2 separate regions of the Homo sapiens genome follow, and region 1 is linked to region 2. The links are contacts of gene promoters, found by promoter capture Hi-C in blood cells and fetal thymus (Javierre and others, 2016). All regions are on one chromosome and are shown on one strand. The core of a region is centred on a gene start or on the middle of the fragment in contact, and the rest is flanking DNA. Distances in the headings are between cores, read along the strand shown. Region 1 overlaps CUL9 (cullin 9). Region 2 holds the start of DLK2 (delta like non-canonical Notch ligand 2).

Region 1 (2,723 bases), core at 215-2,714, 250 kb after region 2:
ACCTGTAATCCCAGCTAATCGGGAGGCTGAGTGAGGCAGGAGAATTGCTTGAACCCAGGAGGCGGAGGTTGCAGTGAGCCAAGATCAAGCCACTGTACTCCAGCCTGGGTGACAGAGTGAGACTCTGTCTCAAAAAAATTAAAATAAAATAATAAACTGATTACAATTAAATTATTTAGTTCCTCAGTTATATTAGCCACATTCCAAGTACTTAATTGCCACCAATGACTATCATACTGAACGGTGCAGAAAAGAATTTTTCAATCATTGCAGAAAGTTCTACTGGATAGCACTGTTAAACTATTTTAACCTTCTAACAAAATAGCCAAAAAATATATATACAGTTAAACCAGTATGATTAGCGGTTTTAAAAAATTCACCATCATAGTGGTAGATTTTAGCACACCTCTCTCAGTAGTAGATCAAGTAGACAAAAACTAGTAACTTTACAGAAGATGTGAACAAAACAATTAACAAGGTCAATTTGGTGAAATATGTAGAATCCAGTTAAGAATACACATTCTTCTTAATCATACATGAAACAGGTAAAATATGACCATCTACCAGGCCATAACGAAGTCTCAATAAACTGCAAAGATTCAGAATCATAGAAACCATGCTCTTTGGCCACAGGGGAATGAGGTTAGAAATATAAAACAAAAAAAAATTAAACAAAGAAAAACTTGTTTGGAAATTAAAATATATATTCTTCTGAAAAACAAAATAAAGAAATAATAATAGAAATTTAACAATTCTTAGAACTAAACAATAATAAAAATAATACGTAATAAAAACTTACAGAACATCCCAAATGCCCATAAACAGCAGAAAGGGTAAATACATCCATACAATGGAATATGACTCAGCAAAATAAATGAATAAACTAATGATACCCTTGACAACCTGAATAACCCTCACAGACAGTATGTTTCGTGAAAGACATCAGACACAGCAGAATACTGTATGATTCCATTTATATGATGTTCAAATACAGGCACAAATCTATGGTGATAAAGGTTAAAAATAATGATTTCTCCTGGAAGAAGACATTGACTGGAAAGGGGGCATGAAGGAGACAGCCTTCTACGATGCTGGAAATGTTCTGTATCTTGATGGGGGTATGAGGGAGGTAGATACATGGGTGTATATGAATATAATAATTCATGAAGCCTTATAATTAAGACGTGTGCACTTTACTGAATACTAGTTATATCCCAATCTAAAAAATCTTTTTGGCCGGGCACAGTGGCTCACTGAGGCGGGTGGATCACCTGAGGTCAGGAGTTTGAGACCAGCCTGGTTAACATGGTGAAACCCCGTCACTACTAAAAATACACAATTAGCCGGGTGTGGTGGCATACGCCTGTAGTCCCAGCTACTTGGGAGGCTGAGACAGGAGAATCGCTTGAACCCGGGAGGTAGAGGCTGCAGTGAGCAGAGATTACACCACTGCACTCTGGTCTGGGTGACAGAGTGAGACTCCATGTCAAAAAAATAAAGAAAAAAAATCTTTTAAAACTTTATAGGATGCCACTAAAGCAGTATTGAGAGGGAAATGAATAGTCTTAAACACTTTTATTTGGAAAAAAGTCTGAAAAGACTAAAAATCAAATAAGCACCTCACTTGAAGTTAGAAAAAGAAAACAGAACAAATTCATAGAAAGTTGAAGAAACTGATGAGAGCAGAAATTAATGAAACTACAACCCATGCTTTCTCATCCCTCGCTAGGAGCTGATATTTTTCTTCACATCTATATCCTGTCCAAAGGTCCTCTCCTCTTCCTCTCTTGCCACCCCGAATCTCACCCCGATCTCCAATTTCCTCTCCCTAGTTCCTCACTCTGGCTGTAGAAACTGGAGAAACGGTCAAGGGCATCACAGAATTCTGTGGGAAGGCACTTTCTGGGATGGTACAGGTAGCAGAGTGGGGAGACGGGCCAGCAGCGTGGTGACAGGACCAGTATAGAAATGGCTGGACTTGGATCTTCGATAAATAATTCTTTCTCAGCTTCCTCTTCCTCCTCTTCCTCCTGAGGGACAGAAGGATTTCAAGGGCCCTTGGGCTCCCTTCCTTGGTCTAGTCTTCTCTCACTCTCCTATTCTCCCTGCTCTTACCTCCTCTTCCTCTAGTCTCTTTTCCTCCTCATCTTCCTGCTCCAAGAACAACTTGTCGAGCCGCTGGAGCTGGAAGAGGTGGAACTGGCGCTGCAGCTCCTCAGAGGTGCTCAGGCTCTGCAGCATCAGCTGTGGGAGGCGGTTGGGAAAACAGAGGCCAATCTGCTCTAGCACAGCCCCCTCCAGCCAGCTCGAACCAAAGCTCAGGAGACGGTCCGCCATATAATGCCTGCAGCACACACAGCCCGGGCCAAGCCTCAGTGTGGGTGCCAGCGTGGCCCAGCCTCCCCCTCGAGAATGTAGGTCCCTCTGTCCCTCTGCCTGAGTCACATACCCTACCTCACCTCTTCTTTCCCACTCCCTTTCCACCAATGCATGACCACCTCCACTTTTTTTTTTTTTTTTTGAGACGGAGTCTTGCTCTTGTCACCCAGGCTGAAGTGCAATGACGTGGTCTTGGCTCACTGCAACCTCTGCCTCCCGGGTTCAAGAGATTCACCTGCCTCACCCTCCCGAATAGCTGGGATTACAGGTGCCTGCCACCACGCCACCACACCTGGCTAATTTTTGTATTTTTAGTAGAGAAAGGGTTTCACCATGTTGGTCAG
Region 2 (2,700 bases), core at 106-2,605:
TGTGAAGGTGGGAAGCTGCTCTGCCCCGACTAGCGACTGCTCCTTCCGATGTTTTGAATTTAAAGATGGTGAAATCTCAATCTGAAGGACTAGAGATGGGCGCTAGCGTTCCTGACCTCTGCCCTGTTGTCCTGCACAAACTAGAAATTATGTTCTGGGTCCTTGTCTTTTTTTGGGGGGGGGCGGGGGTCGGAGTTTTGCTCTGTCCCCCAAGCTGGAGTGCAGTGGCGCGATCTTGGCTAACTGCAACGTCTGCCTCCCGGGTTTTCAAGCGATTTTCCTGCCTCAGCCTTCCGAGTAGCTGGGATTACAGGCGCGCACCACCACGCCTGGCTAATTTCTGTATTTTTAATAGAGACGGGTTTCACCATGTTGGCCAGGCTGGTCTCGAACTCCTGACCTCAGGTGATCCGCCCGCCTCAGCCTCCCAAAGTGCTGGAATTATAGGCGTGAGCCCACCGAGCTTGGCTGGGTCCTTGTCTTGAAATGTGTCTCTGAGCCATTAGCCAGAAGGGGGCAAAGAGGCCTGGAGGGCAGCTTTCCCCCACTCCCCCTCCGTTACTCTCTGAATCTGAGCTCCAGGTTTGGGCAGTTGAGGTTTAGCCTGAGGCCAAGGACGAACGTGATGGGGTACAGGAGAAGACTTGGCGGTGGAGGGGGTTTTGTGTGCACATTTACAGAGTCAGGGGCATTCCCAGTCCAGAAAGGATTCTCAGAGGCAGTCACAAAAAGGAATGGGGTGGAAGGGCTGAGACTTGAGGGAGGGAAGGGTGGTGGGGGTAGGGCCGGGGTGTGGTTGGGTGGATCGGGTTGATATTTATATAGGGATAGGTTGATCTTGGAAGGCTGGAGACGGCAACGTGGACAGGAAGAAGCGGAGGGCGAGGAGGAGCAGAGGAGCACACAGATGAAGCAGGTGATGAAGGCTTTACAAGCGGGGAGGCGTGGGCTGGTGACAGGCGGAGGGCGGGGAGCGATTGCCTGCGTGTGCATAGATCTATATGAGAAGCGTGATGAGCGGCGGACAAGCGAAGGCAGGGCTGGGGCGTGGGCCGCGGAGCGCTGGTCGGGAAAGTGGGCATGGGAGATGAGAGAATAACGGGGTTGCGCTCCTTTGGCTTAATAGTTTGCTCCCATTGAGACTCCTAAGATTTCCTCCTCTCTTGGAAGGAAGCTGGGTTCGGGGCGTTGGGTAGCCGCGGAGGGCCGGGGCCCCGGGGCGCGCCGGGTGCTAGGTGTGCGCCGTGCGTCGCGGGGGGGGGGATGGGGGTGGGGGCGGGCTCCGCCCCTGGCAGGGGGCCTGAGCGCGCGCGAGGAGCAGCCGCTGCCGCCGCTCGGGGTCGCCTGGAGCCCCAGATTCCCGAGCGCTCGGCTCGCATGGCAGCCGCTTCGGCGCCCGGCCCCGCGGCCAGCTAGGGGCGGCCCCGCGCTCCCTCACGGCCCCTCGGCGGCGCCCGTCGGATCCGGCCTCTCTCTGCGCCCCGGGGCGCGCCACCTCCCCGCCGGAGGTGAGGACTGCGGGGACAGGGCGCGGTGGGGATTCCAGGCCCCGCGCCGCCGCCGAACCCAGCGCGGCGGAGATAGAAAGGGGACGTGGGAGAGAGTGGTGGTGGCGGGGGGGGGGGCTGTCGGAGCTGTGGGGCGGAGACTGCTCGCTGCCGGGAACCGTCCTTCCCTCCGGCCCCCGCGTCCCCTCCGTGCTCGAGGCCGCCTCTCGGCGCTGTCCCCATCCCGCGGACCCCTCCGTCCTGACTACGATCCCAACCCCAGCCATTCCCGCGCCTGGCCTCGCTCCGCGATGCCCATCTTTCCCCTCCTTGCAGACCCCGCTCCCGGGTTCCTGTCTTCGCTCTCCTCGCTCTCTTCGCCTGCTCAACCCTTCCCTGCCCCCATCCTCCCGCTACCCCCATCCCCTTCTTCTGTCCCGGCGCCCCTCTCCCTCGTCGGCTCCTGTCACTTGGAACCCGTATCCGTGCCGCTATCTCCGCGTCCGGCCGCCTCCCAACCGGTGCCGTCCCACAGGTGTCCACGCGTCCGGCCGTCCATCCGTCCGTCCCTCCTGGGGCCGGCGCTGACCATGCCCAGCGGCTGCCGCTGCCTGCATCTCGTGTGCCTGTTGTGCATTCTGGGGGCTCCCGGTCAGCCTGTCCGAGGTGAGCGCGCCCGCTGGGCTCCAGTCGCGGCCCTGTCCAGCCGTCCTCGCTTGCACGTTGACCTCTGCCGGCCGGAGGCGGCACTGCAGTCGCTCCGACCCGCGGGGCAAGCAAGACCGAGGTTGCCTTTTTGGAATGGGATGAGTTTCTGTGTTATGTCCTGCCCTAGGGTTGAGTCCGCTCAGTTACTGGAACCCCAATCCTCTCCTGAGTCCCGCATCCCAGCGAGCTGTGCCCTGACTCAGACTCACCCCTCCCACATCAATCTCTTGCAGCCGATGACTGCAGCTCCCACTGTGACCTGGCCCACGGCTGCTGTGCACCTGACGGCTCCTGCAGGTACCTGTCCTGAGCACGTGCCCCCAAACCCTTTGGTACCCATTTCTAAGCCCTTCACGTGCACAACAGTGTCTAGGGGCTTCAGACTCTACTCTTCATGCCTCATCACTCCTATGGCTGACTGGCCAGTCCCCCTTTCCCCTTTACCTCACCTCTCTTGCTTCTTCTAGTTTTTATCTCCCCACTTCTTTAATCTCCCAAGTCTGAT

The links. Contacts are between HindIII fragments. The CHiCAGO score rates a contact against its expected background, and 5 or more counts as called.
Region 1: a fragment that was not itself captured here is called in contact with the fragment with the promoter of DLK2 in region 2 in 1 of 17 cell types (naive B cells); the score reaches 5.2 in naive B cells.

The regions. Positions count from the first base shown.
Region 1 is chr6:43,205,628-43,208,350 of GRCh38, reverse strand. CUL9 (cullin 9) reads right to left here. Exons shown (of 41, transcript NM_015089.4): 25 at 2,116-2,344; 26 at 1,841-2,030. Among named protein-coding and RNA genes, the nearest start is that of DNPH1, 22 kb to the left of the region's middle. The HindIII fragment of the contact is 3,481 bases long and covers 1-2,723 here.
Region 2 is chr6:43,454,203-43,456,902 of GRCh38, reverse strand. DLK2 (delta like non-canonical Notch ligand 2) reads left to right here and starts at 1,355. Exons shown (of 6, transcript NM_023932.4): 1 at 1,355-1,508; 2 at 2,023-2,153; 3 at 2,429-2,492. The coding sequence starts at 2,078. RefSeq lists enhancers at 1-698, 2,327-2,376 and silencers at 1,297-1,536, 1,637-1,686, 1,717-1,796. The HindIII fragment of the contact is 6,033 bases long and covers 1-2,700 here.